Regions from separate parts of the Homo sapiens genome. Here region 1 is linked to region 2. Evidence: promoter capture Hi-C in 16 types of primary human blood cells and fetal thymus (Javierre and others, 2016). All regions are on one chromosome and are shown on one strand. The core of a region is centred on a gene start or on the middle of the fragment in contact, and the rest is flanking DNA. Distances in the headings are between cores, read along the strand shown.

Region 1 (5,533 bases), core at 523-3,022, 2.0 Mb before region 2:
AACCATTTCTGGGAAACAAAATTCAACAGCATGTTTTTGTTGTCCACGTTTTTTGTTCAACAGAATGTTTTTGTTGTCCATGTTGTCCGTGTTTTGTTGATGGAACGAGGTTGAAGGACCTTGAATCTTTTATTCCATGAACTTACTGAATTTGGTTTAAGATTTCATTAGGTGTGCTAAATATTTCAGAGAAGGACTTACTTATATTTATTTCCTAGAAAGGAAATTTTATTAACGATAAATTTTTATTTACCAATAATGAACAACTCTTCTTCTGTCTTGACTCTAATTTCACCAGTGTTTCTCAGTACACTCTCTTTTCTCCTGACTTTTTCTTATCTTTGCAGAAATGAGACAGTCAATAACAGATCCAGTCAATTTTCACTTAGTAGAACTTTGATCAAAATGCTCAGAATACTCAGCAACAATGAAGAGGAAAGAGGTATACTAGGTTCATCTTTCTATGACTTAATAAAGGAAACTAAATCAAAGTGTCAACAAAAGATGCCTTAACTACATCAAGTGTTATTCTTCCTTTTGGCAAATGTGGAATGACCCATGAATTGAAAGCCTTATGCTCAAATTTATTTCTTTGGACAATAATTTCTAGAACGTGTTATCACAAAAGGTAGAGGAAACATAAAAACTGGCAGCTCTATGAAAATCATGACACCTGCTAGAGAAAGTGGAATTCATGACTTTCACTAGAATTAACACTCCACGAAAGCAGTGACTGCTGCATGACTTGCACCACAGAACAGAACCTGGAAGGTCCTAGGCCACCACAATAAATATTCCATCAGTGAACAAATGGGAGATGATAGTAATTATCCTTAAGACTTCAGAAAATATATAAAGATGTCTCCTTCAGTGATATGCTTGAAGAAGTGCCTGATAAAAGAGCAATTAATCTATTATTCACTCATTTACCTAGTCACAAAGTATTTTTTGAACACAAACTACTTGTTAGTTATTAAAGCTTTGGAGATAAACAGGGAAGGAAAAAAATAACCTTGTTCCTTTACTTAAAAGCTTATAATAGAGGTAGTCAAAGAAAGACCTAGTACAAAAGCATATCAATAAATGTGTAATTACTGGTTGTGATAGGACCATGCAAGACACAACCAAAGCATAGTGAGAAAGAATTTTCCTGGGGCATTGCGATGATGGGAAGGCAGGGCACCTGTTTAAGTGGTGAACAGTGTCAGGAATGAGTATACAGTAAAAATGTTCTTTACTTGCAGAAACTAGAGAGATGGTAAAAGCTTGGATGGGCCTTAGAATCCAGCACGAACAAGGCCTACCCTCATGTGAGTCAGGGTGCTGGCTAGCTGAGGGCCAAAGCAAGAGTCAACCAGGCCCTGTGCCTTCCTCCAGGCTCCCCAGGAGAACTGGGAACTGCAGATCAGAAACTGCAAAGCTCAGGCCTGCATTATAGTTATGGCCTTGCTCCCCACTTACTAAGGATCTGGCATTAGCCAGCTTCTTTTTTTCTTTTTTTTTTTTTTATCTCCACTAGTCAGTAAGAATGGGAATAATACCGCACTAGATTGCTGGAATGATCAAATAAAACAGTTAGTTGGAACATGTGATGTAAGCCATGTAACTATGAACTGTGATTGTGATGATGAGGAAGTGGAGGAGGTGGATGGAAGTGGTAAGGATGACAAGTTTTAATGAGGCTTTAAACCCTTTGTGGAAACCATCTAAAATCAAACATTCGCATGTTTTTAAATACCCATAACAGTATCTAGAGCAGTGGTTTTCAATTAGAAGCATTTGGAAGTATGCACAGGGAATGGGAGTTACAATTTTTTGATGTCGCATGACTGAGACTACTACTAGAATATAATGGGCAAGTATGCCAAAGGTTCTGCAACACGTGGGCCATTCCCACACACCAAAGAACTGTCCACCCAAAATGCCAATAGTGTCCTGTTGGGAAGCACTGATGAATGTCCAACACAGAGGAAGCATTCATTAAACATTTACTAAATAAATGAACATAACTTATACTACATATTTCCTTCAGAGCACAATCTCTTGGAAGGCTCATTCTTCTTCACCTTCCCAGCTCCCCAACACTGAACCTGACACACAAGCATTTAGTGAGTTGTCTCTCAAACATTCCATCAAGACATCAAGACAATCTATTAAACTGCAAGAAATTCTAACTTGACATGGGCAAGTTAAGGTAATGATGTTCAACACATTCTCTCCAGGTATAAAGGAAGGCTGGAAAGATAATACTAAAACCTAGATGTCCTATGGAAATAAACAAAGCTTTGCTCCATCACCAGGTGTTTAATTTAAATTTTGAAACATGATCATTCCAAAAACAAAAATAAGAAAAGGCAATAATTTATAAAGATTTATATGCTTTACAGAGGTAAACTAACCCAAAGACATACTTTTCTTCTGAGTATCAGCTTGAATGTCAAAATTAAGCCACTTGGCTATCTATTTCTTCTGGGGGAAAAAGCCACCAGAATGTATCATATTACATACTTCCATGTTTCAAAAGAACAAAAGTCATTTTCTCCAGGACTGACATAATGAGAGCCAAGCAAATGTTGAAAGTAGCAAAAGGTTGCAAAGGAACTGAATGAAGAATAGTATAAAACAATGGCAATAGAGAAAAGCATGCATCATACAGTAGTTTAAAGATTAGATCATTTTTCCTAATTCAGAAAAAGGGCAAACGAGTATACAATAAGCCCATAGCCGGGTGCCTGTATTCCCAGCTACTTGGGAGGCTGAGGCAGGAGAATTGCTTGAGCCCGGGAGGCAGAGGGTACACTGAGCTGAAATCGCACCACTGCGCTCCAGCCTGGGCGACAAAGTGAGACTCCATCTAAAAAATAATAATAACAACAATAAGCCCATAGCATTAAAGAAAATGTATGTAGCAATGGGAGAACTTTTCAGATTTCTAAAATCATCAGAATAGAAACGGTGAATTACTGCAAATATACTTTTAACTCATACATTTTTAAAACACTGGAAATTCAATTGCAAGAATCCAAAAAATTGACTGTTTGAAAGACTAAGAAAAAATAACCAAATTTAATTTCATAATAGAAGCTTTTCATGTCTCAGGGCTGCCAAATACTGCTAGATTCTTAAGAATAAATTATCTATACCAATATAACCAGAAACTGCATTAGAGGGGATCTGTATGACGTGGCGTATAAAAGAAAAAATTCCCAGATGAAAGAGCGCATATAAGCAAATGAACAAATAAAGAACTCTCATTCAAAGTAATGAATACATTTTGATATCGGAAAGCTTCTCAATCTGTGTCTTTAAAGAAGTTAACTACAACAAAAGCTTCTCAATCTGTTTCTTTAAAGAAGTTAACTACAACATCTTTGAACTACTAACAATTTCCATTTATGTATGACCAGCTCATCTGAACTAAGTGTCAAGATGAAGCTAATTTTAATGCATTTTGTTTTTCTCTGTTATATACATAAAAAAAAAAATCTGGTAACGTATAGGCTATTTAAATGAATTCTTAGAAATTCATAGCAGGCCTCTAGTGGTATGGAGGATATAATGAATTTTATATTTTTTTAAGTACTGGAGTTTTTTTCACAGCAAGGAGGAGGAGTATCACCTGATAATACAGAAAAAAATAGATCACAAATAGATAAGAACCAAAATATTTCTTCAGGATGAGCACTTGGGTTTTAGTGCGTATAAAGAAGTTGGATGGAATGGTTTGGATCAATTTTCATTGACAGCCTTGCTTCCTAGCCACCTATTCTGAAGTGCACTCGATAAAAAGAGAATGTCTACTAAAATGACCTTGTGTCTACACAGCTTACTTCCAGATTACAAGACTCATCTGGCATCACAGGCCAAGCATATTCCATACAACTGGACACATGACAAACTCAGAGCAATTGATTACTATGTTTAGGTTTATACATTCATAAAAAAGTAAAATTTGAACCATCAACATGGCCAAGCACAGATGTTGTTGGCTCTCCCTCAAAAACTTATTGAGGCTTTAGTGTTCTTAATTCTATTACCAAAAAAAAAGCAATTCCAAAAGGAACCATAGAGGAGTTGAAGTCATTAAAAATGAGGAGGCCTTTCTGTTTTAACTTTTCTTACATACATATGCAAACTCAGTTTTACCCTGAAAGATGACATCTAGGAAAAAGTCCATTTTGTAAGCACCTACTGAAAAGAGAACTTTCTGTAGTATTGGCTGACAAAATGCAGTTTATCCCAAACTCTTAAAATTATTACAAACATGGAAGTCTTAACACAGCTCCACTTATTTTAAAAGTTTCTCAAATAGAATATGACCCCCTCACCTTCTTCCAAAAATAGTTAAGTGGAATATTTTAATAATTCATGTCTACAGTTCCCTTTAATAATTTCATTGATTTATTATGATACCAAGGGTATTTCATTTGGAGGTCTAAAATATCCCCTTCTTTGTGACTAAGAGGTAAATGCACATTTGAAGGGGTGATATGCCTTATGTTCTTCGAGCAATGTAATCTGCTGTGTGACATAAATTTTGGCTCTGATCTCACACTGAGGTTTTCACTCCATAGGCACCTGCTTGCAATTTAAATTGAAAGAATCAAAACTTGGTCTTGGATAAAGGAAAGATCCAATTTTCTGTCTGTGTCCTCAACGTAAAACAAAGATTCAATAGTAGTATACAGATTGCCAGAAACCACAGGCTAAAGAGATGTGGCAATTTCCTGAAAGATTTTATGTTTGGGGGGTGGGGGCGGGAGGGGGGCAGGTAGGGTGGAAAGGAGTTGTGGGAGGGGAGAGAGAGACAGAGAGAGAGAGAGAGAGAGAGGAGGGAGAGAGAGAGAGAGAGAGGAGAGAGAGGAGAGAGAGAGAGAGGGAGGGAGGGAGGGAGAGAGAGAGAGAGAGAAGAGAGAGAGGAGAGAGAGAGAGAGGGGGAGGGAGGGAGGGAGGGAGGGAGGGAGGGGGAGAGAGAGAGAGAGAGAGAGAGAGAGAGAGAGAGAGAGAGAGAGAGTCTGCAAGCCCACCATGATGGTCTCTCAAGCCCGCTCAGACATCTGCCCACCATCCACTGCAAGCCTCTTTCAAATGGTCACTTCCTATTATAAGGTTAAACTATAATCAACAAATCCCTTTCTTTCTCCTAACTCAAAACTGTAGTTTCCCATCTCCTTAAAGAAAAGGCACTATCCACCATTTGCTTTCTATTGTTAAAAGGGGCAATGCGTATCTTCTTTTCTTTATGGCACAATTATTAATATTACTCAGAAAGTCCTACCTTTACAAGTTATAATAAGTATCAACATTTATTTGAAATCATACTGTAAAATTTAAAAGGCATCCATATTTATGTTTTATTCTCACAATGACATCTCCAGGTCTTCAAACGGAAGACTACGACACAAATGGCCTGCCTTCACCGTGCTGCAATTTCTTCAACAGGTAACTTGCTTAGCCTGTGCTACGTATTCATACTGCACGTGGATGTCACTGAATGTCCTTTCTCTTCCAATACATATCTGTATCTAAAAGC
Region 2 (5,736 bases), core at 1,140-3,639:
CCACACTGCTTTTATGAGCTGTAACACTCACTGCGAAGGTCTGCAGCTTCACTCCTGAAGCCAGCGAGACCACGAGCCCACCAGGAGGAACCAACAACTCCAGAAGCGCCGCCTTAAGAGCTGTAACACTCACCGTGAAGGTCTGCAGCTTCACTCCTGAGCCAGCGAGACCACGAACCCACCAGAAGGAAGAAACTCCGAACACATCCGAACATCAGAAGGAACAAACTCCAGATGCGCCACATTAAGAGCTGTAACACTCACCGCGAGGGTCCCTGGCTTCATTCTTGAAGTCAGTGAGACCAAGAACCCACCAATTTTGGACACAGTTTGACAATAAATTTACACTCAAATATCTCTAAGGAATCAAACTTACAGATTAATAATTAGTAATCAGGTCACGTAAAGTAAATTATAAAAGAGCATTGATACCAAGATTGGCAGAAAGTTTTTTGTGTGACAAAACCAAGTTTTGGCTAAGATACACACTGCTGATGGGAGTCTAAATTGCTGTATATGTCGGGAAAACAAGTTGTCTTTATCTTGATGTTATAAATAACCTATGACCCAGAAATTTAACTCCTAGACATATACTCTAGTGAAACTCTTGAACGTGTGCGTCCAAAGACATTTATAAACATGATCTTAGTAGTATTGCTTTTAGTAGCAAATTCTGGAAACATCCCAAATGTCTATCAATAGTGGAATTGATTTGAAAGGGGTGTGGAATGGTAATATAATGGAATAGCCTACAGCTGTTTAGATAAAGGAACTCCAATTAAACATACCAACAAAGATACATTTCAAAAACAAGACGTTGAAAGGAAAAAAGTCATCAAAACAATACACAACATTCTACCACATTTTTATAAATTCTCAAAATATGCAATATTAAACATGCATTATTTAGGGAGGCATTCAATGTAGCAATGCATTTTTAAGAGGCTGGGATGATAAATGTAAAATTCAGAACAGGTATTATCTCTGGGAACAGGAAGAGGAGGATGCAGTGTTGGGAAGAAATACATATAAGTACAGCAGTAGAGGCAGACTTTTTTTTCCTTTTCCTTTTTCCTTTATTTTTCCTAGCTTTCTTTTTCTTTAGCTATGGTATTTCTTTAGCTATGGTATGGTATGGTATGTACTTTCCATATATCATACAGTATATTTTGGTGTGCATGAAATAGTCCTTAATAACATTTTTATTATTTTTTATTTGACGTTTAAGTTCAGGGGTACATGTGCAGATTTGTTATATAGGTAAACTTGTGTCATGTGGTTTTGTTGCACAAATTATTTTCTCACCCAGGTATTAAGATTAGTACCCATTAGTTATTTCTCTTGATCCTCTCCCTCCTCCCACTCTCCACCTTCTACCCTCCAATAGGCCCCAGTGTGTGCTGTTCCCCTCTATGTGTCCATGTGTTCTCATCACTTAGCTCTCACTCATAAGTGAGAACATGCAGTATTGGGTTTTCTGTTTCTGCGTTAGCTTGCCAAGGATAATTGCCTCCAGCTCCATATTCCTGCAAAAGACATAATTTTGTTCCTTTATATGGTTGCATAGTATTCCATGGTGTATATGTACCGCATTATCTTTAGCCAGTCTATCATTGATGAGCACTTAGGTTGATTCCATGTCTTCGCTCTTAACATTTTTAAACAGTCTCTGAGTAGAATAGGGTAGGCTGGTGTAAGGAATTACTGTTTTTAATTGGAAGCAATTACATACTGCATTAAAAAGCATATATATATAGACACACATATATATGTTTTACATTCACATAATCAAACCAAAGCTTTCAGAATTTTCCGCCAAAAAGCATGTGTGGAGGGAGAGAGAGGGGTGTTATGGTGCATTTGTAGGCCCTGAAATAAAGTGATCTCCATATTTGCTTCCATTTGTGTATAAATATTTTTTAAGCATATATGCATCCTAGAGTATGGAAAGAAAATTTCTGGGAAGATTTGCAAGAATCTGTGGCAGTTGAGAGTAGGTTCACTTTCGCTTTATTGTGTAATTTATTGTATTTTTCATTTAATTGTACTTTGTAAACTAAATATTTATTGTATATTTTACTTCATTTTTTAATTGCCATATGCAGCTTTAATTTTATAACTAAATTACGTTCTGACCCAGGGCAGGAGGTGGGAGAAGAGAATGAGAGAAGGGCGGAATCCTCAAGACAGCAGCATTCTGCGCTCCGCCCTGGAACACCCAGCGCAGCTACCCCATCCCGCCCAGGCCGGCCACCTGGCGTCGAAGCCAGGCGCGAGGGGCGGAGGCGGAGGCGGGGGCGGGGGCGGAGGCGGAGGCGGAGGCGGAGGCGGAGGCGGAGGCGGAGGCGGAGGCGGAGGCGAGCACCGCCCCACCGCGCACGCTGCGGTTGCCCCGGCAGCCGCGCCCTGCGTGGCGGAAGCTCACAATCAGCCCGGTCCCTCCGGCTTCCACCCCGCCCCCTGCGCTCACCTGCCCGCGCGCTCGCCTTCCGGGGACCCGGGGCCCATGGACACATACACCCAGCCCTGCTGTCCCGCGCGCCAGCTCACCAGCCCTACCCAAGGGACATCATTCACGCCTGGGCGCCTCCGCCGGGCTCCGGGAGCCCAAGGTCGCGGCTGGGCCAGCGCTGAGCGTCAGAGGACGAGAGCAGGGGCCTCCCCGGTCGCCCCAGCAGGCCCAGGCACATAGGTGCCCAGAGATCCCTGGCTTCTGATCGCCCGGAAGACTAAGAGGTGAGCATGACACATGGCTTTTCCTTTGACGTTACATCTCTACCCCCTCCACTCCTCTCTTCTCCAGATTTTTCTGGAGACTAAAAAGTGGAAAGCACAGTAGAGAACCCCCAACATGTAAACTATCGCTTACACTTGTGGGTGAGCTGAAACCCGCAAAAGTTTGGTGTATTCATAAGGAGCCTATATTGAAGGACTTTGCTAAATGTTTTACAAGGATCATATCTCATTTCCTTTTCACACAGTCCCATGAAGTGGGCACCATTGCTATTGCCAGTTCACAGATGCAGAAACTGAGGTAAAAACTAGGTAGGTAGCATATCCATATTTATATCCAACTAGTTTGTGTAAATAATGATACAGGGAAGGGAGGATCACAACGGATTTCCCCACCTCAAACCCTACATTCCACTGTACCAAGCTTGTCTTCCTCCATTCCTCTTTCTAATGATCCTTCCTTGTCGCACAGCCCCCCTTTGAGAGTTAAATGACCTGAACACACACAGATTCCCACAGATTTTCATGTAATTTCCGAGTATTCAGACCCCGAACATGGACCTCAAGTCAAGACATTCTGCTCTATTCCACTACCTTGGTAGATGGTTAGATGTGACTAAGGTGGCCCAGGGTCATGCTGGGGAAAAGTACAGGTGTGCTTGTATGTGGAGGATCCTATATGCTGCTCAATTTACAAGGAACCCAGGACCCAAGGGCTACACTTGTGTGATTTCCTGCAGTGGGGTGAGCTCTTGGTCAGTCTTAGCAGTTGATTGTGAAGGACACTATACAGGGTGCTGCCCTCTCCCCAGCACTTCAGGGCTTTAGCTGGGAGGGAGGCAGTCCACAGGAAACCGACCCATGGACCTACTGAATTCATCACTGTAGCTGCTAATTAATTCTCCGTTAGAGATGGGTGCTAACAGAGGCAACATTGAAGTCCCTGATTGGGAAATCCTTATTTTCACAAATCAAGTGGCATTGATTCAGTCTAATCATTACCTATGTAGGAGCATCTTGCCCTATTCCATAGATGACACATATACATATGCAGTATGATGACACCGCACCTAATCGGAATATGGCCGATAATAATAAAACAAGCCATAAATAGCAGCTAAGGTGAGTGTCACCAAGCCGTGCAGCAAAGTCCAAGTGGATGACTCTGAGGCAGCCTCAGTTGGTTCCCTAGTCCACCGCATGTTATAAACAGATTAAAAGGCAAAGGAGGCCTGGCCCGGTGGCTCACGCCTGTAGTCCCAACACTTTGGGAGGCTGAGGCGGGTGGATCACCTGAGGTCAAGAGTTCAAGATCAGCCTGGCCAACATGGTGAAACCCTGTCTTTACTAAAAATACAAAAATTAGCCAGGTGTGGTGGTGGGCACCTGTAATCCCAGCTACTCGGGAGGCTGAGGCAGGAGAATCGCTTGAACCCAGGAGGTGGAGGTTGCAGTGAGCCGAGATTGTGCCACTACACTCCAGCCTGGGTGACAGAGTGAGAGTTGGGCTGAGGGTCGAGGGTCATGGGATAGGGCGAGACACCAGGGGAGTGTGTGAGGACAGAAAAGAGTCTTGAGGACCTAGCCCTGGGCACCCAACATAGGCTTCTTGAAATGGGGAGTCAGCAAAGGAGCCTGAGCAGGAGGGGGCATTGGTGTTGGATGGAAGCAGGCGATGGAGATGTTGTGGTGCCTAGAGAGACACATTTAAAGGAGAGAGAGCTCACTGCCGTAGAGAATGTAGGTGAGGGAGCAGGCTTGCGATGGAGAAAAATGGTGCATAGTTTCAACTTTTGTAGTAAGATGGAATCTTTTCATTGCAAATGTTGGAAACTTAGCTAACTAGCTTATACCAAAATAAGGTGACGGGGGAGAAGATGTATTTACCCACAAAGTGGTAGATGGCTTCTGGCACCATGGAATCCATGTTGCAACTAATGCCATCAATCTCAGTCTCTCTCCATCCTCCAAGCATGGACTCTCTCTGTGGCACCCAAGAGAGCTACCTGCGCCCCAGCCCCACACCATACTGCTTAACAACTTCAGCAGAATAGTCTTCCCTCATAGTTCTGGATGATGGGCTGCTGATTGGTTGATGTCTTTTATGCACATATGCTTGAGCTTCAGTGTACCTGGAAAGGGATGGTTCCCTCAAATGGGCCAAGCCTAGGCCACAGACGCTTTCCTCTGGCAGGGGACAGAAGGGACAGCCCCATCCAAACGACCCGGATAGGATTCCCTATGTGATAATGGAGTTCTTTTCTCATAAGAAATGAAGAAACAACTGGTCATACCTAGCATGGCCTGCTACTCAATCCAAAAGATTTTCCGTACAAGGAGGTAAAATTACATACTAGAATGCCCATCACAATTTAACAGGGAGATTGTTTATGAAGATTTGCAGTTTCCTTGCAGCCATTTAACTACATCTTTTCCACTTAAGATGACATAGGAATCACTCATCACATCTCTGATATGTTACAGAGCCCAGTAGATTTGTTTATAATGAACACCTCAAAATTATATGTTTTTATAACACCTTAAAACTATTAAAACCTGCATGATCTCTCTATTTTGCTGGTGTGAAACCATGTAGATAGATGGTGGGAACTCAAACCCTTACCATGGCAATTTAGTTAACCTCAGCTTCTTCATGGTAAAATGGTAAAGTGTGATGAGGAGGGAAGGTTAAATGGATAATAAGAAAACCACCTGGCAAACTATTTTTAATTATGATGGAAGATTTGTTTGAACTGTTTTAACTTTATGCCCACTCAATATTTTTGATATTTATGTATAAATCCTACTTTCTGAACATTTCTTAAAAAACAATCTCTGTTCTTAAGGAAGTTCCAAAATATTGTTATTTAATCAAAATGAAGATGATAAAATTAACTTTGAGTTATTTTTCTTTTTTGTTGCTTCAGCTTTAGTTTTGGTCCAGAAAGCATTTTCAAGGAGCTGGTCAAGCATGGCTTTAGCAGATAAGAGACTTGAGAACTT

What was found. The method cuts DNA at HindIII sites, captures the fragments that hold promoters and counts their contacts. A CHiCAGO score of 5 or more calls a contact.
Region 1: a fragment that was not itself captured here is called in contact with the fragment with the promoter of ANKEF1 in region 2 in 1 of 17 cell types (total CD4 T cells); the score reaches 7.4 in total CD4 T cells.

What each region holds. Positions count from the first base shown.
Region 1 is chr20:8,013,515-8,019,047 of GRCh38, forward strand. The region is part of intron 1 of TMX4 (thioredoxin related transmembrane protein 4); the gene reads right to left. Among named protein-coding and RNA genes, the nearest start is that of TMX4, 3.5 kb to the right of the region's middle. The HindIII fragment of the contact is 1,018 bases long and covers 1,264-2,281 here.
Region 2 is chr20:10,032,598-10,038,333 of GRCh38, forward strand. It overlaps ANKEF1 (ankyrin repeat and EF-hand domain containing 1), which reads left to right and starts at 2,390. Exons shown (of 11, transcript NM_022096.6): 1 at 2,390-2,736; 2 at 2,982-3,045; 3 at 5,661-5,736. The coding sequence starts at 5,705. The region is part of intron 3 of SNAP25-AS1 (SNAP25 antisense RNA 1); the gene reads right to left. RefSeq lists a silencer at 2,181-2,730. The HindIII fragment of the contact is 1,358 bases long and covers 1,798-3,155 here.